Regions from separate parts of the Homo sapiens genome. Here region 1 is linked to region 2. The links are contacts of gene promoters, found by promoter capture Hi-C in human tissues and cell types (Jung and others, 2019). All regions are on one chromosome and are shown on one strand. The core of a region is centred on a gene start or on the middle of the fragment in contact, and the rest is flanking DNA. Distances in the headings are between cores, read along the strand shown. Region 1 overlaps RCAN2 (regulator of calcineurin 2). Region 2 holds the start of ANKRD66 (ankyrin repeat domain 66).

Region 1 (5,363 bases), core at 807-3,306, 340 kb before region 2:
GTCTACCAATTTCTTTTTAGATGTGATACAAACAAATTGCTGGATGCTAAATGTTACTAAGACAAAAATAAATAAATAGAGGCTAACCTGGTAGAGAAATGGAGGTCAGAGTCCAGGAAATCTTTATTATATGATATCATCAGATTTCTTAACACATTGCTACATCAGTTTCCCCATGGAAATCTATAGGAAAAGCAAATAACCCATATATGACTGCACCACAGGTTTTTATTTCTTCTTCCACGTACTGAAGAAAACCAATTATGTTCTCATGAGTGTATTGTAAAGATTAAACAACAGGTGAATGCAAACCATTTTGCAATAAAATATGACACTGATAAATTGCAATCTGCTAAGACTCACACTACTATCTTATAACGGGTTGGGGAAACATAGATGAAAGCGTGTCCAGAATTGGCGGGTTCTTGATCTCACCGACTTCAAGAATGAAGCCGCGGACCCTCGCGGTGAGTGTTACAGCTCTTAAGGCGGCGCATCTGGAGTCTGTCCCTTCTGATGTTCAGATGTGTTCGGAGTTTTTTCCTTCTGGTGGGTTTGTGGTCTCGCTGGGCACAGGAGTGAAGCTGCAGATCTTCACCGTGAGTGTTACAGCTCATAAAAGCAGCGTGGACCCAAAGAGCGATCAGCAGCAAGAGTTATTGCAAAGAGGGAAAGAACAAAGCTTCCACAGGGTGGAAGGGGACCCGAGCGGGTTGCCACTGCTGGCTTGGGCAGCCTGCTTTTATTCTCTTATCTGGCTCCACCCACATCCTGCTGATTGGTAGAGCCCAGTGGCCTGTTTTGTCAGGGCACTGATTGGTGCGTTTACAATCCTTGAGCTAGATATAAAGGTTCTCCACGTCCCCATCAGATTAGTTAGATACAGAGTTTCAACACACAGGTTCTCCAAGGCCCCACCAGAGCAGCTAGATACAGAGTGTCGATTGGTGCACTCACAAACCTTGAGCTAAACACAGGGTGCTGATTGGTGTATTTACAATCCCTGAGCTAGACATAAAGACTCCATGTCCCCACCAGACTCAGGAGCCCAGCTGGCTTCACCTAGTAGATCTCGCACCGGGGCTGCAGGTGGAGCTGCCTGCCAGTCCCGCACCGTGCGCTCGCACTCCTCAGCCCTTGGGTGGTCCATGGGACTGGGCGCCGTGGAGCAGGGGGTGGTGCTCCTCTGGGAGGCTCGGGCCGCACAGGAGCCCATGGAGTGGGTGGGAGGCTCAGGCATGGCAGGCTGCAGGTCCCGAGCCCTGCCCCGCGGGAAGGCAGCTAAGGCCTGGCAAGAGATCGAGCACAGCGCCGGTGGGTTGGCACTGCTGGGGGACCCAGTACACCCTCCGCAGCCACTGGCCCGGGTGCTAAGTCCCTCACTGCCCGGGGCAGCAGGGCCGGCCGGCTGCTCCGAATGCGGGGCCCGCCAAGCCCACGCCCACCCAGAACTCCAGCTGGCCCGCAAGCGCTGCGCGCAGCCCCGGTTCCTGCTCGCGCCTCTCCCTCCACACCTCCCTGCAAGCTGAGGGAGCTGGCTCTGGCCTTGGCCAGCCCAGAAAGGGGCTCTCACAGTGCAGCGGCGGGCCAAAGGGCCCCTCAAGTGCCGCCAAAGTGGGAACCCAGGCAGAGGAGGCGCCGAGAGCAAGCGAGGGCTCTGAGGAGTGCCAGCACGCTGTCACCTCTCAAAAGGGTCTCCATGCATACTCAAATTTTAAAATGTATATATATGACCTAATTTTCCCAAATAAAGTCACTCCTCCAAATCTCATTAAGTTCTGGCAGCTATTTTTTGGTCTGTTTTCATTTCTTTCTTAGGGTTCAAATGTGTTTATCAAAGCAATAAACCCTTGGTTCAGTCCTCACTGATCACTCAGCCTTCAAGGCATTAATGATTTTGATAGGAGACCAAGGACAGCTATTTGAATTTTAGGGCAATTAAAAGAAAATGTTTCTGTCAGCTCTCTTTTTTCTTAATGCTTACAAGTAACTCAGAGAGAAACAGGTTTCAATGTTCTTCTTTTAGAAAAGCCTTTGCTTTACCATAAATTGGCAGTGAACACTTTGAAAGACCCATTATGTACTTATAGAGGCTACTTCCTTGAATGGCTTGGCTATAAATTATCAGGGAACTTTCAGTGTAAACGACAGCCCTTTAATCCCTGACATTTTATATTTTATTCTCATTTCTTTATGTTACAAAAACTTAGACAGGTAGCAGATAGCTTCCCCAAGATAAAAATTACAATATTTCAGTAGAAGACTGGGTACACAATTATGTGCTGGGCGATTCAGTAACAAATACCCCCAAACTGGTCCCTCCAGACCTTTCCTGTCTGATAAGGTGACAGAGACTTCTAAAATGGACTCCAAAACCCCAAAGCAAAGTCTGAGCTCCTGGGGCATGGAACTGAGACTCTTACTGTGCCCCAGTGCCTGGAAGGCATTCAGGGGCTATTTTCCTAGTCAACTCATATCACTGAACTGTTTGGTAAAGGAGCCATAGCCTGGCAGGGGAGTAGAAAAGAGGGAGAAGCACCACAGGAGATAAAAATCAGCACACAGAAACACAACACAGGGAGAGTTCCCTTTCAGGACCTTTGGTAGAGCTAAATTTAGATGAAACCAGGTACAAAGCTAATGCAGTCAATCAAGAGCAGTATATACTGCTGTTTTTAAAAATCACATCCTTTCTATGCAGGCAGCAACCACTCATACAAAGATCTTAGCAAAAATGAAGTCTTGATTTCCCATGAAAAAGCCAGTGATGATGTAAACATTTTTAAAACAGTTGTTTTACGCAAGTCCCCATGGAAAATTCCAAGCCGACTCAGGCAAAGATCCCATCTTTAAAAGTTCACATTCAAACAGTAGTAGTAAAAGCAGAAAAATACATACTTTGGAAAAATGAAAGAGCTCGTCTTGCTATGGGCAACTGCTTTATGGAAGGAGTGCATCTTGGAGGATGAGGTGGTAAAAATATAGGTAGAGTTGAGAGAAGGGAATCCATTTCCAAATGGCTAATTGTGCATCATTTTATTTCATATACATCAATGTCCTACTTTGCAACAGGGTCAGGAAATATGTACTTAGGTGATTTTATAATTTTATATTTAACCAAGTTTGGAAACCCAAACCTTAGCCTAAAGGTGAGATTGCATAATTTTGCTATGCAGCAGACCTTTAGAAGCGTGCCTCCAAAAAGAGAAAGAGTAAAAAGAAAAAGATTGATGGAGTGCTACGTAAAAATTAAAAACTTGGCATGCCCCAAAGGATTATAAACAGAATGAGTAACTGGAAGTTCAAATGCCATCCAGCACTGAAATTGTCCATCTGGAAAACAGCAGCTTTGATTTTTCAGTCATCAGTATGTTGAGATGGATATTTACAAAATCCATGATTATTCCCTCAGGAGGGAAGCTGCTTATAAAACAACTTCTGAGGATTTTCTGGTCAGAGTCCTTCTGGAATCACGAATATTTTATGTTTTCAAGGGCGCCTCTGTCAGATACCTCAAGGAGAGAGCCTTTTAAAGTCCTTCGACAATGCTCCTATTACTTCCCTGCGGGCGGCTCCGACTGTTCAGCTCTACATAATTTTGCTCAGGTACCTGTTTACATGTTTAGAGCCATCCGATATGAGGCTAAACAGCTGTGATGACTGCAGGCTCTTTGTGGCAACCTGCTGCAGATGGTACCAGCTGGCGAGTCGCTCACACAGCAACACGGGTTCTCTTTGTCCTGCTTTGGATGCCGGGGACTAACTAGCTGAGCACTTTAGCCTGACTTCTCTATATTGCAAAAGAAGAGCTGGATGTGCTGCCCTTCACATATAGAAGATTCTCTATGTCATTGCAATATTCCCAGCATTGTTACTGTTTTCTAGTAATGGTGAAAGACAGATGCTAGGCACTGCCACTAGGACTCTTAGTGCATTGACCAAGATTTGGCTACAGATTCCTGCCACCCAAACGGAGCAAAGCTGCCAGCCCACAAAGAGAAGGAACCCAGCTCCTTGGCCTCTCTGCCTTGGTTCTCTATCTGACTGAGTTATCCAACCACCATGAATACCAGACAATAAGGAATAATAATTTAAAAAAAACTGGTTAGAGGCTTGGCAAGGAAACAAAAATTTCTATTTGTTTTGTTTTTATTTTTATTTTTCCAACAGGAGATAGTTTGGCCAAGAAAAATATCATCCTTCCATGGATGCCTGGTATCCTGTTTACTCCTACACATTGTTCTTACATGTCAGAAAATGAAGTATGAGCTAAGGAAAGGCCAGTCATTAAATAAAATGCTGGGTCTTGGGAGACATTTTAGGGTATATAAATTTCATAGAGACATATCAAACTGCAAAAACCAAATGAAGATCATTTGCCACTATCTAAGATGTGTTTTTAAATTATACTAATAAAATAGATTCCATATATACTGATTTACTTGAAGGAAAATGTTGTTTTTCCCTTAGGAGTCTTTAGGGGAAGACACAAATATTAACAATTCTGTTTAAAGAAACGAAATGGTCTAACATGATTTCTCAAGGTTCTCATTTAACCACCGAGTTCCATAGATACACTTTCTTTTGAATAAAATTGTACAGGTATATATGAAAGCAATAACTAAAAATCACATTTAGTAAGTATGGAAGGGTTATATAACCAAATCAGAAATATAATACTGAACTTATTTTTACATTATTATTCACCTTTCAAAGTTTTATTAATTCCTTCATGAACTTTAAATACCACTTAACCCATTTTGGCAGCAGTTAAATTAATGTTTTCAATTGACTTTTGTGGGATCACATTTCTAATACACAAACTATATATACATACACTAGACTCTCCATGTTCATTCCACATTGTCAAGAGAGTACAGGCCAAGAAAGGCATCTGCAGTTTGCAACCATGAAAGTACTAGATCACTTTTTCCAATATATCTTCATCTATAACAGGCTCTTAAATGCACCACTCATTCATTAGTTCATTATGTACATTATGAGCAGAGAGCCTGCTGAGTGCCAGGAACTATGCCAACATTTTACTATTTCCTCCATCATACATTCTTTTAATTCTTTTCTGTACATAAACGTTCATAAAATACTTTTGATCAAAGTTTTGATATATGAGTTTGATATGAGATATATCGTGTGATAGTTAATTTTAGGTGTTAATTTAACTGAACTAAGGGATGCCCAGATAGCTGGAAAGGCATTATTTCTTATTATGCCTGTGAGGGTGTTTCCAGAAGAGACTGGCATTTGAAATCAGTGGGCTTAGGAATATCTGCTGTCACCAACATGGGCAGGTACTATCCAATCAGCTGGAGGTCAGACAGAACAAAAGGCAAAGGAAAGGTGAT
Region 2 (5,303 bases), core at 2,137-4,636:
TAGGAGAGAATCAAGTCTCAGTGTCCCAAACATGAGTCAGCAGCTCATGGATGGCAGTGCTGCCCAGACCACACCCACTCAACCCTGAACCCTGAACACTGAACCCTGAACTGAACCCTTAACATGCAGTTGCTGTGCATCTATTCTGTATGTTGAACTTAGCTGGGGTGGGGGAGGTGGTAAGAGATGAATGAAAACACAGTAGCAGTGTTACTTTAAATAAATAATTTAATGTCAATGGCTCTCAATATTCTCACCTGTTAAATGAGTTTTGGATTCATTATTTCCAGAGTTTCTTCCTGATCTAAAAATGACTTTGATTCTATGGAAAAAAGGTCTCATGGAAGTCACCTTATCCAGAAACTTTAGTCCCAGTGCTTGAGCCAATGGGACCAAAGATCAATGACTGGCCCATCGATATTTCCCCAGGTGGCCTCTGTGACCTGTTGCAGGATAGGTGAGAGACTGTTGAATGTAGACTTTTGACCTTCATTCAGTCACAAAGGCACACTAAGAGCACTGAGAAACATATATCATACAAACTGAATATCACATTAGCAGACCCTACTACTTGTAGTTAACAAATAATTAATATTTTCATAAGATCAAGATTCATTTTGGCCTTATTTTTATATAGCCCTGTGTATTATGTCAAAATTTTATTTTTTTATTCAAAACATACTACAATATTTTGCACCTTTTTTGTCTCTTCTTCTTCTTCTTCTTCTCCTTCTCCTTCTCCTTCTTCTTCTCCTTCTCCTTCTCCTTCTCCTTCTCCTTCTTCTTCTTCCTCTTCCTCTTCCTCTTCCTCTTCTTCTTCTTTTTCTTCTTCTTCTTCTTCTTCTTCTTCTTCTTCTTCTTCTTCTTCTTCTTCTTCTTCTTCTTCTTCTTCTTCTTCTTCTTCTTTCTTTTAGTATAGTGGAAGTAGCTCACTCTTGACTTGTGGAAAATCCTGGGGAAATCCTGGGGGCCTCTCCCTTTGGTTGCCTCACTCTCTGGCCAGTTCATGGCTTGTCAAGAAATTAGATGTCAGACACGTGTTATTATGGGAAGGAAACCTGTGAGAGGGTGTAAGAGAAGGTGAGGCCCCAGACGCATGCAACTTTTTACCATCGTCCCTTATTACAAGCTCTTTGAGGGTAAGACCTCTGTTTCTGTACCCTTGCATCAACACATACTAGTTACCCATCAAGTATTTGTTCAATGAAATCAAGCTGAACCAGAACTGTTACAAATCTCAGAAAGGGTGATGAGACACTGAGCTCTTTGAGGGTGGGGAAGGGGTCTCATATGCATCTTTCTGGCTTGTGATAGTTACACATTAAACTCTACTCCCTTTTACATGGTTGACAGCTACTCCTTATAACCACATTCTTCTCCTCTTGGCTTCTGTAAGACTCAGTTCTCCTGGTTTCCCTCCTACCTCTCAGTGGTGCTTCTTAATAACCTTTGCTAATTATTCTTTGCTGCCAGATCTAAGGGCCTCAGAGCTTGGGTCTCCTCTCTGCATTTGCTATCCTTAGATTATCTTATATACTCTTACATCTTTAAATGTCACCTATGTGCTGATAACTCCAGAATATGTATCTTTAGCCCAAAGTCACAGAACTCTGGATTCCTACTTGATATTTGGGTGTCTCATAGGTATCTCAAACTTAACACATTGAAACAGAACGCTTCATTTATACTGTCCTTCCCTTACCCAAACCTGGCCCTACCCTAGTCACCTCCTACCACGAATGTGAGCACCTTCCACCAGGTTCGTCAAGCCAGAAACCTGAGGATCATCCTTGATGCCCTCTTTCCCCCCAGTACTCATGTCTAATCCATTGGCAACTTCCATCAATGTTCCCTCCTAAAAAACTTTTAATTTCACTCACTTCTTTCATCTCTATGGCCACAGTTCACCAAGTCACCATCCTTTCTTGTCTGGACTTCCACGGTAGCCTCCTCAGCAATCTTCCTGCTTTCAATCTTGTCTCCTTTTGCTCCATTTTCCACATAATAGTCAAAGTAGTCTTTTAAGAAAATAAAAGTTGCACATTCTTCTTCGTTGTTTAAGTGCTTCCAATGTCTACTCGTTGTACTTGGAATACAATCCAAACTCCTTACCATGTCCTAGTAGACCGGGAATGATCTCATCTTCTACTTGCCCCACACTGCATAAACCAGCTGCATCCTCCTCTTCTTCATTCTTCACCTAAGCCAAGCTCCTCCCCTCCCTCTACCTAGGTCATCTTCCTAGCTCTTCAGATGCCTGATTTCTTCTGCTCTGCCAGGTCTCCCCTCAGACCCTCAAATGTCATCCCCTAAGTTGCCCATACTCCTTTCCTGGTGTTCTCTGCTATTGTATGTTGTTTGTTCATTGTACTCGTACAGGTTGTGAGTCTACTTGTGTACGTTTATTTGTTTTCTTGTTTATTCTTATCTAGACCAAAAGCTCAAGGACGACAGGAACAATGGGTATCTTGATCTTCACAGGGCCCAGTACAGTGGTGCTTGACAGATATAAGGCATTCACTAAATACATATGGGAAGAAAGGCAGGGAGAGAAATGGATGGAGAATGAGGGAGGTGGGAAAGATAGTAAGAGAGAGAGAGTGAGAGAGAGGAACTCCCTTCAGAGAAAGGGAAAAAGAAAAGGAAGGAGAGAGGGAAAAGGCAGGGAAAATGTAGAAAGAGAGGAAGAAGAAATAAGGTCTTTTTGACCAGCATCATCATCAATATGGTAGATTTTCGCTTAGAGCAAGGGGTAAAAAGAGGAAGCAAAAAGAAAGCACCTAGGAATTTTTATTTGGTTCTCCTTCTCCTTCTCCTTCTCCTTCTCCTCCTCCTCCTCCTCCTTCTCCTCCTTCTTCTTCTTCTTTTTGTAAAAGCATCTACCCTGTGCCAAGTGTTTTCTAAATTATTTTAGCTAGTCATATTTAATAGCACTATAAAAAAAAGATGTTAAAATTTCATGTTATTGGTGAGAAAAAAAAAAAAGAAAAGAAAAAAGCCTCTCTAAAGTTAAGGAACTTGCCCAAGACCTGACAGCTGCTTCTGAATGTGAGGAGCCCACACTGTCCCCACTCCCCCACAGGTCTCACATCTCTTATGGTTATGTGGTCTGTAAGCAGCCTACCTCCGTCACAGTATTATGTGGGCAGACAATCATTCACAGCTTTTTAAATTTTATTTTACTTTTATTTTTTGCATTAAATACTATTTGAAAGAACCTGTTAAGGGCCAACACATTTGGACTAAAAAAGATGGCTGGAACTGCTGAAGAGTTAGGGTGTGAAGCAGACTGGCAATCCCACCCCACCAGACACCTAGGGAAGCTGAAGTTGACTGGCTGGCTTTCATGCAGAAGGAGGAGTCAGTTTCCATGGCATGGACACAACACTCCGGATGGTTAGGACTGCCTGTCAGCACAGAGCTCCTCAAATTTCACACAAGACAGTAAGTGTTTTTAAGTTACCCTCTCTTATTTACTATAGTTATTAAAAATCACTCACATTTATTAAAACTGATATTTATTGACTACTTTGCACTTGATTTCCTATCTTTATGGTAGATGTGCCTCTACCAGAAAGATAGGAAATCAAGTGCATTTAATCAAATTCACAAGGATTGGTTACTAAAGGAACCAATTGATAAATTTCAGTAGTCAATGCCAAGCTAGTGAGTTGTATATATTTTCTGCAAACAAATTGTGTTTGTTTTTGTTTTGTAGAAAGCTTCTAATTAATAGTTTTTTGTAAAGCAGCTTTGTTAAAATACAATTCACATACCATAAAACTGGATTCATTTAAAATGTAGAATTCAGTGGTTTTGGGCCTTTTGGAGTTGTGAAAGCATCTAATCTAATTTAAGAACATTTCATCACCCCAAAAAGAAATCCTGTACTTATCAGCAGTCACTCCCCACCCCAACCTCCATCGCAGCCCTAGGCTGCCTATAGTCTACATTCTAGCTATCTAGATTTGCTTATTCTGGGCATTCCACATACATGGAGGTATGCAATATGTGGTCTTCTGTAACTGGCTTCTTTCACTTAGCATGTTTCAAGGTTCATCCATAAAGTATGTATCAGTACTTCATTCCTTTTTATTGCCAAATAAGAATGCTTTATATGGATATTCCACATTTTGTGTATCTATTCATCTATTGATGAACCTTTGGGATGTTTCCACTTTTGCCTCTTATAAATAATGCTTCTAAGAACATACATGTACAAATGTTTATATGGATATATGTTTTTCTTCTCTTGGGTATATAGCTCATTGGAATACTCAGACTTTCCCATTTCAAAACTTACTACAAACCTGCAGTAATCAGGACTGTGTAGTACTAGCATAAAGATAGATATTTAGAGCAACGGAGTAGATCTGAGAGTCTAGAAAAAACCCTTATATTTATGTTCAATTGTTTTGTGGCAATTGTTGTCAAGTATAAAAATTAACTCAAAACGGATCACAGACCTAAAAGTAAGTCTTAAAACTATAAAACTCTTAGAGGAAAACACAGGAATACATCTTTGTGAGGGAGAGGACCAACTTCATTCTTTTAGCTGTAGATATCCAGTTGTCTCAGCATCATTTATTGAAAAGACTATTATGTTGTCACTGAATTTTCCTGGCATACTTATTGGAATCAGGAAGTGTGAGTCCTCTAACTTTGCTCTCTTTCAAGATTGTTTTCTTCTGGGTCCCTTGCATTTCCATATGATTTTTTAGAATCGGCTTTTCCATTTCTCTGGAAATAAATTTTGCTGCCTAATGCTTCCACTTGAATTGCAACTCACCCATGGAAAGTTATGGAATCTTGGCATGAACTCAAATGTGGGACAAATGGGGTTAGTTGAAATGTACACCTGCTTAAAGGCCTCTATGAAAGGCAAGCGAAAAACTTCTAGATACTGATTTAAAAAATGGTTTTATTTTAGTGGCACCCTCAGATTAGAAACACTCTAGCATTTTTGTTTACTATTCTATCATTGATCAAACACTCCAGTGTAAGGGATTTCTATTAAAATGAATTTTGAAAGTAAAATGCAGTCTGTGCCATCTTCTCTTTTACCTAACATAGTATGTACAGAGCATCTACTTCACAAAACATGCCCAATCCTTGTCCTGCACACCCAAAGATTCTGATTCCTTTTGGACTGAGGCCCAGGCATCTGTATTTTTGAAAATCCACTGCTGATTCTCATGTATCCCCTCAGTTGAGAACAGCTGCCACATCCTTACTCCCTCCTCAGCTCTCCAATTTTGCTTCCAGCCAGTCTATACCTTACTTTTCAGCCACAAAGATATTGC

The links. The method cuts DNA at HindIII sites, captures the fragments that hold promoters and counts their contacts. A contact is called where the count stands out against the background at its distance.
Region 1: a fragment that was not itself captured here is called in contact with the fragment with the promoter of ANKRD66 in region 2 in 1 of the 25 tissues and cell types used here (IMR-90 fibroblasts).

What each region holds. Positions count from the first base shown.
Region 1 is chr6:46,404,642-46,410,004 of GRCh38, forward strand. The region is part of intron 2 of RCAN2 (regulator of calcineurin 2); the gene reads right to left. Among named protein-coding and RNA genes, the nearest start is that of RCAN2, 84 kb to the right of the region's middle. RefSeq lists an enhancer at 814-1,314. The HindIII fragment of the contact is 6,383 bases long and covers 1-5,248 here.
Region 2 is chr6:46,743,547-46,748,849 of GRCh38, forward strand. ANKRD66 (ankyrin repeat domain 66) reads left to right here and starts at 3,387. Exons shown (of 5, transcript NM_001162435.3): 1 at 3,387-3,444. The HindIII fragment of the contact is 7,862 bases long and covers 1-5,303 here.